Regions from separate parts of the Homo sapiens genome. Here region 1 is linked to region 2. The links are contacts of gene promoters, found by promoter capture Hi-C in human tissues and cell types (Jung and others, 2019). All regions are on one chromosome and are shown on one strand. The core of a region is centred on a gene start or on the middle of the fragment in contact, and the rest is flanking DNA. Distances in the headings are between cores, read along the strand shown. Region 1 holds the start of LOC124903910 (a long non-coding RNA gene). Region 2 holds the start of YBX2 (Y-box binding protein 2).

Evidence for each region. The method cuts DNA at HindIII sites, captures the fragments that hold promoters and counts their contacts. A contact is called where the count stands out against the background at its distance.
Region 1: a contact is called between a fragment that was not itself captured here and the fragment with the promoter of YBX2 in region 2, in 1 of the 25 tissues and cell types used here (spleen).

Annotation. Positions count from the first base shown.
Region 1 is chr17:7,140,082-7,143,844 of GRCh38, reverse strand. It overlaps LOC105371512 (a long non-coding RNA gene), which reads right to left. Exons shown (of 3, transcript XR_934191.3): 3 at 3,082-3,167. LOC124903910 (a long non-coding RNA gene) reads left to right here and starts at 1,221. Exons shown (of 2, transcript XR_007065600.1): 1 at 1,221-1,370; 2 at 1,402-1,596. It also overlaps the pseudogene RPL7AP64. The HindIII fragment of the contact is 4,120 bases long and covers 450-3,763 here.
Region 2 is chr17:7,292,645-7,296,505 of GRCh38, reverse strand. It overlaps YBX2 (Y-box binding protein 2), which reads left to right and starts at 1,867. Exons shown (of 9, transcript NM_015982.4): 1 at 1,867-2,276; 2 at 2,968-3,031. The coding sequence starts at 2,006. LOC124903912 (a long non-coding RNA gene) reads left to right here. Exons shown (of 2, transcript XR_007065602.1): 2 at 1-428. RefSeq lists silencers at 1-64, 1,603-1,772, 1,803-1,922, 2,340-2,515. The HindIII fragment of the contact is 17,351 bases long and covers 1-3,861 here.

The DNA.
Region 1 (3,763 bases), core at 1,260-3,759, 150 kb after region 2:
TGGGATTACAGGCATGAGTCACCGCGCCCGGCCTTTTTTATTTTTTTATTTTTTTTGAGACAGAGTCTCATTGTGTTACCCAGGCTGGAGTGCAGTGGCACAATCTGGGCTCACTGCAACCTCCACCTCCCGGGTTCAAGCGATTCTCCTGCCTCAGCCTCCTGAGTAGCTGGGATTACAGGTGCGCACCACCACACCTGGCTAATTTTTGTATTTTTAGTAGAGACGGGGTTTCGCCATGTTGGCCAGGCTGGTCTCAAACCCCTGACCTCAGATGATCTGCCCACCTTGGCCTCCCAAAGTGCTGGAATTACAGGCTTGAGCTGTTGACTCCCTCTTGAGTTCCTTCCTGTGTAAAGCCAAGAACCCATGTGACCTCCTGGGCTGAGCCTCTAATTTTGGGGTCGCCCTGTGACAGGATTACAGGCATGTGCTACCACGCCTGGCTAATTTTTTTTTTTTGGAGGGAGAGGGGTCTCACTATGTTGCCCAGGCTGGTCTCGAGCTCCTGGGCTCAAGCCATTCTCCTGCCTCAGCCTCCCAAATTGCTGGGATTACTGGCAGGAGCCACTTTGATAGACCAGTATTTTTTTTGAAGGAGAATTAAAAAAAGAATTTATGTACAGAAAACTCAACAGTGGACGTTTAACCCAGTTTAGTGGCAAGTTCTTTAGCCTTTGCCTTTTGCAGTTTAGCAATGTCTGAGCCAGATTTTGGACCCAGGGCATTGCTGTAGCCACCCAACGGGTTCACCTTGCCTGCTGCCTAGACACAGCCGATTTATTAAGACAGGGAAATTGCAATGGAGAAAGAGCAATTCACGCAGAGCCGGCTGTGCGGGAGACCGGAGGCTTTTTCTTTTGAGATGGAGTTTCACTCTTGTTGCCCAGGCTGGAGTGCAATGGCGTGATCTCAGCTCACTGCAGCCTCCAACTCCCAGGTTCAAGAGATTCTCCTGCCTCAGCCTCTTGAGTGGCTGGGACTACAGGCGCGTGCCACCATGCCCAGCTAATTTTTGTATTTTTAGTAGAGACGGGGTTTCACCATGTTGGCCAGGATGGTCTCGATCTCTTGACCTCGTAATCCCCCCATCTCAGCCTCCCAAAGGGCTGTGATTACAGGCGTGAACCACCACGCGCGGCCTGTCAGGCCTCTGAGCCCAAGCTAAGGCATCACATCCCCTGTGACCTGCACGTATACATCCAGGTGGCCTGAAGCAACTGAAGATCCACAAAAAAAGTGAAAATAGCCTTAACTGATGACATTCCACCATTGTGATTTGTTTCTGCCCCACCCTGACTGATCAATGTGCTTTGCAATCTCTCCCAACCTTAAGAAGGTTCTTTGTAATCTCCCACAACCTTAAGAAGGTTCTTTGTAATCTCCCACAACCTTAAGAAGGTTCTTTGTAATTCTCCCCACCCATGTATACTTTGTGAGATCCACTCCCTGCCTGCAAAACATTGCTCCTAACTCCACCGCCTATCCCAACACCTGTAAGAGCTAGTGATAATCCCACCACTCTTTGCTGACTCTCTTTTCGGACTCAGCCCGCCTGCACGCAGGTGAAATAAATAGCCTTGTTGCTCACACAAAGCCTGTTCGGTGGGCTCTTCACTCGGACGCACGTGACACGGCCCAGAGTTTTACTATTTCTCAAATCAGTCTCCCAGCATTCAGAGATCAGAGTTTTTAAAGATAATTTGGCGGATAGGGGCTTGGGAAGTGAGGAGCGCTGACTGGTCAGGTTGGAGACGGAATCATAGGAGATCAAAGTGAGATTTTCTTGCTGTCTTCTGTTCCTGGGTGCGGTGGCAGAACTGGTTAGGTCAGATTATGAGTCTGGGTGGTGTCAGCTGATCTATCGAGTGCAGGGTCTGAAAAGTATCTCAAGTACTGATCTTAGGTTTTACAATAGTGATGTTATTCCCAGGAGCAATGTGGGGAAGTTCCGACTCTTAGAGTCAGAGTCTGCATGACCCCTAAACTACAATTTCTGATCTCGTAGCTAATCTGTTAGTCTTGCAAAGGCAGACTGGTCCCCAGGCAAGAAGAGTCTTTTCGGTTAAGGGCTATTATCAATTTTGTTTCAGAGTCAAACCACGAGCTGAATTCCTCCCCGAAGTTTGTTCAGCCCACGCCGAGGAATGGACAAGGACAGCTTAAAGGTTAGACGCAAGATGGAGTCGGTTAGGTCTGATTTCTTTCACTGTCATAATTTCCTCAGTTATAATTTTTGCAAAGGAGGTTCCATTGCCTCCCCAGTGACTGTGGATCTCGTCACACCTGCCATTGTAATCGGTCCTGATAGCTTCCGCCACCTTAGCCAGAGCTGCTTTGTCTTCCCAGTGAGCCTGTGTGAAGGTGACAGTCTTTTCTGGGGTCTTCCTGCAGACCAGGCATCTCCGTCCTGCCTTCCCCTGGATAACGCAGTAAGGGAACCCCACTGTAGGACACAGCGCAGACAGAGAGACAGCAAGCTCGACGAGAGTCACGTGCAGTCACCACCAGCTGAGGCTTCTTGTTCTCCACCAAGGTGCTGTCGGGGTTAACCCTGCTCGTGGGACAGTTGGGGTCTTCATGGAGATGCCCCCTTTGCCGGCAGCTTTCTTCTCTGCACGGGCCAATAGCCTCTGCTTCTTTTCTTGCCCTGTCTCTGGTCTGTACCATGGTCCAGCTGATGCAGTTGAGGAGCTGTTTTCTCGGTCCAAGGCCTGGATGAGTCGGTCACTTGCAGGAGGCACTTTCAGCTGCTCGTGGAGGTCAGCCGTTTGCCACTGCAACCAGATGTAGTTGGGCCATTCAACAATCAACAAAGCAGGTGAGGTCCCTTTTGGGCTGGATAGCCTGTTCAATGCCAGATTCTTAAGCCTTTTCTCAAATGCCGAAATTCTTTTTTTTTTTTTTTTTTTTTTGAGACGGAGTCTCACTCTGTTGCCCAGGCTGGAGTGCGGTGGCGCGATCTTGGCTCACTTCAACCTCTGCCTGCTGGGTTCAAGCAATGAGCAATGAGCCACTGTGCCCGGCCTCGACTGCCTTCTTATTTCTGCGATTGCCACCAGATGCTGCTGCTGCAAACAAGTCCCGCTCAGCCAGAGGCCACCCCTGCCGTGGCTGCGCTGTAGTCACCGTGGATCTGGCTATAGTTTGATGCAGTAATACGGGAGCTAAAAAGAAATTACTTAGGCAGTTGGTGAGGGTAAGAGAGTCCTCGGTAAGGCATCCCTTTTAACAAAAAGCAGCCCCCACATCATTTCTTTTCTAACAAAGAGCAGCCTGTAAAATCGAGCTGCAGACATTGACAGGCAAGCTGGAAGCTTGAACGGGTGAATGGCGGCAGCCGTGCCAATCGGAAAAGGCTACCTGGGGCCAGGCATGTTCAACATGGAGGCTTCATCTTCCCTTTTCCTTATCAACCACCTGTACAGTAAAGGAAGCAGCAACATGATGCCAACCAGGTAGAGAATCCATTTGCATAATAAAAGATTAGGGTGGGGCGGCCAGCTTCTTCTTGCACTATGTAAATGGCATACCTGGTCCCGCAATCTTTTGGGCTCTGTGTAAATCAGACACTGCCTGGCCGGGTGGGTGCGGCGGCTCTCGCCTATAATCCCAGCACTTTGGGAGGCTGAGCCGGGTGGATCACCTGATGTCAGGAGTTTGAGACCAGCCTGACCAACATGGTGAAACCCCGTCTCTACTAAAAATACAAAAATTAGCCGGGCGTGGTGTGCATGCCTGTAATTCCAGCTACTCGGGAGGC
Region 2 (3,861 bases), core at 618-3,117:
GCGGAGGACGCCAGCCCTTGGGAAGCGCACGTGGGGCTTGCCCAGCAGCGCCTGGGGGCACGTGTGCTGCCCCGGGGCGCGCTGCCCTGGCTAAAAATACAACGCGCACCCGCGTCCTCCCTGGTGGGGGAGGCGGCCCTAGGGAGGAGATACTGCTGGAGCCTCGTTTTTCTGGGATTACAGGCGTGAGCCACCGCGCCCGGCCCATTTTCTTAATCTTCCCAGGCTCCCGAGAAACCTGGTACAAGCCTCGCACTGCCCCTCAGTCCTCTCATCTGTGGAATGGGGGCCGTTCATGTATTCGATAAATATTGAACGTGTACGTTGTACCAGGCACTGCTGCAGGCGTCCAGCTTAACTACAAGGCTCTTACTGCTGTGGAGTTTACAGCCCACTGTGTGCAGGGAAATAAAATAAGCAAATGGTCAGGATCATGTCATATTTTCAAAAATGCCATTAGAAAAATAAGGAATGGTGTGATGGCGAAGAGTGGCACGTAAGCTGCTGCTTGGAGAGAGCCACCTGGAGACACGAAGGCGCGTTTTCGGCAGAGGAAACCGCATGTGCAAAAGGCCTCGAGTCCGCTGGAGCTTGACGCCTGGCCGGAGACCACAGCCCCCGGCATACAGACGTGAGAGACCCCAAAGCCAGTCTAGGGCGGTAGACATCAGAGCTGCAGCGGTCGGTATGGGCCACATGGGTGGACACATTGATCAAAACTCAGCGAAGGCCGGGCACGGTGGCTTACCCTGTCATCCCAACACTTTGGGAGGCTGAGGCGGGCGGATCACCAGAGGTCAGGAGTTCGAGACCAGCCTGGCCAATATGGTGAAACCCCATCTCTACTAAAAATACAGAAATTAGCCAGGTTGTGGTGGCGCAAGCCTGTAATTCCAGGTACTCAGGAGGCTGAGGAGGGAGAATCGCTTGAACCCGGGAGGCAGAGGCTGCAGTGAGCCCAGATCGCGCACTGCGCTCCAGCCCGGGCGACAGAGGGAGACCTTGTGTCAAAACAAACAAACAAACAAACTCAGCGAAGAAGAATTGCGCATTGTACTACTTGTAAACCTTGTTTCCAATACAAACATAGGTAGGGGCAGGCCGGGAGCCACCTTGAGGTGGCTCAAGGCAGGAGAATCGCTTGAACCAGGGAGGCGGAGGTTGTAGCGAGCCGAGATCGCGCCACTGCACTCTAGTCTGGGCGACAGGGCGAGACCCTGTCTCAAAAAAAAAAAAAAAAAGAAAAGAAAAGAAAAAGAAAGAAAAAAGAAAAGTAGGGGGTCCTGGCTCATGGGAGCAAGTGTGAGCCGGGAAAACCATTCTGCTGCGCTTTCCAGCCTATCCTGCGGTTGGATCCCGCAGCCCCAGGGTGTGCAGGGCCGTCCTGTGGGGAGAGGGTGCCAAGGGCGGTGGTGGCCGGAAGGCGTCTGCACCTGGCAGCATACGGGCAAGGTCGGTCTCGAGGGTGGAGGCGAGCGGTGCTACTCACTGCCAGAACCGAGGCTGCAGATTCCCGCCCCTCGCTCAGGTCGTTAGGGGCAACCTTGGCACTGCGGCCCCGGCCCCGCCCTTCCCGCAGAGGCCAGGTGGCGGTTGGGGCGCGACCGGCCCGTTTGATTTCCCGCGGCCGGTGGAAAGGGGCGGAGGGGGGAGGGGAAAGGGGCCGCCGGCCAATGGGTTGGGCCGGGGGCCGTCACGTGGCGGCCAGGGGGCGGGGCCCAGGTGTACTTACTGGGCGGCTGGCGGGGGCCGGGGCCGCGGTGCGAAGTCCGGGAGGCGGGGTCGGCGTGCGGTCCGGGGGTGCTGCTGGGCTGGGATTGGCCCGTGGTCGGGAGGCGGGGTCTGCGCGAGCGGCGGCAGCGGGCTGCCATTGGCCTCGGCTCCGGGCCCGCTGCCGGCGTGTGGGCGAGGCTCGGGGCGCGAGGACCGAGCAGGGCGGTGGGTTCGCGAGCCGGGGGGAGGGGCCGGGGCGGTGGCGGCTGTGGCCGGTACTGGACCCGGCGGGATGAGCGAGGTGGAGGCGGCAGCGGGGGCTACAGCGGTCCCCGCGGCGACGGTGCCCGCGACGGCGGCAGGGGTGGTAGCGGTGGTGGTACCGGTGCCCGCAGGGGAGCCGCAGAAAGGCGGCGGGGCGGGCGGCGGGGGCGGAGCCGCCTCGGGCCCCGCTGCTGGGACCCCCTCGGCGCCGGGCTCCCGCACCCCTGGCAATCCGGCGACGGCGGTCTCGGGAACCCCCGCCCCCCCGGCCCGGAGTCAGGCGGACAAGCCGGTGCTGGGTGAGGGGCAGGCGCGCACAGGGCGGCTCTGAGGGGTCGGCGGGCTGGGGGAGGGGCAGTGTGGAGCCCGGCAGGATCCGGAAAACCAAAGGCGGCCTGGCCCGCAGGCCCAGAGCGCTAACTGGGCTGGGAGCTGCGCACCAAAGTGGATTCCCCTGGTGGGAAATCCTGCCGTACCTTCCTGGGAGAGAGGGCGGGGCCGGCAGGTTCAGCTAAGGTCTTGGGGTGGAGAATAAAGCCCCAGGGTCCGGCCACGCCCCCGGGCGGGACACAGTGCCTAGTTGACTGGGTTAGAACTAGGCAAACCTCTGAGCCTGGCAAGCAGGTGCACTGGGGACCCTTGCATTGGGAGGGCTAGAAAAACCCTCAGTTATGACCTGGGGGCGGCACTTTGCAGACCAGGTGAGTACCCAGTTCTAGGTGAAGGGGCTGGATTTGTAGGATGTGGGGAACGTGACTTAGAGTTGGAAGGCTTTTTGAAAGCCTGAGTCCCTGTGTGGGTGATTTCATTTGGTGGACTAGGGTAGGAATACCTTGAAGCTACTAGTGAAACCTGGTTGGCTTGAAGGTAACCTGAATAGGTAATAAGGCAGTAGGCTAGATTTTTTTTTGTTTTGGAGTGTCTCAAAACTGAGTTCAACTCCATCTCTTCCCCCCATCTCACTGTCCCCACTGCATCTCTGCCTGGCAGCAATCCAAGTCCTGGGCACTGTCAAATGGTTCAACGTCCGGAATGGTTACGGATTCATCAACAGGTATCCAAGGAACCCAGGGCGGGGGTGGAATGGGTGTCTTCCCAGCTGGCCTGTGGGACTGGACACCCGCCCAACCTCATCGACCCCTGCGGAGGCACATGGTTGCAATGTCCAGCTGATGCTGGTTGAAAGCCTTTAACCGCAGCACAAATGTGTGCTTCGTGACAAGAGGAAGCCTCCTCCGCATCTTCAAGGGTAGCGGAGGATTAATGATTCAGGAACTTGGCAAACCTGGCTCTGACCCTGCCAGCTTCTCATCTCACCTTCTGGAATTGCTTCATTACTTTTACTCTGACATGCCTTTGGGGCAGAATGTATTATAGGGTTCTCTGTGCCTCAGGGCCCCCGGCTGGAATCCTCAACTGATTTCCTGTTATGGCAGCACTCACAACTCAACTCCCTTAAAGAGCTGTGGCTCATTCGAGCCCTCCACCTGTTGGGACTGAGGCTGACAGTGGGGGTCAGGAGGAAGGAGCCAGAGGCTGCTGCTTTCCTTCAGTAGGCAGCCCCACCCCTCAGCACCGGGAGAGGCTGTGGCAGTGGATTCTGAGCAGAGCCAGGTCTCCCCCAGTGGGCCCTTCCCCAGCCCAGGCATCCTGCCCGGCCTGGCTCTCCTGGGAGGCCCTAGTTCCCTCTTAGCAGGCTGACCTTTGTGCAGATCCAAGTGCTTTAAAGCTAAAACGTTTGTTCTGGGGAAGGGTCCCTGTCTAATTCTGGAAATGGCAGACTGGGTCGGGGGCAGAGTGCCTCCAGGAAAACTTTTCCTTTCTCCCCTCCCCCCACCCACTGGGGTTCTTATGATAGAGAATGGGTGAATGTTTTCTTCTCTC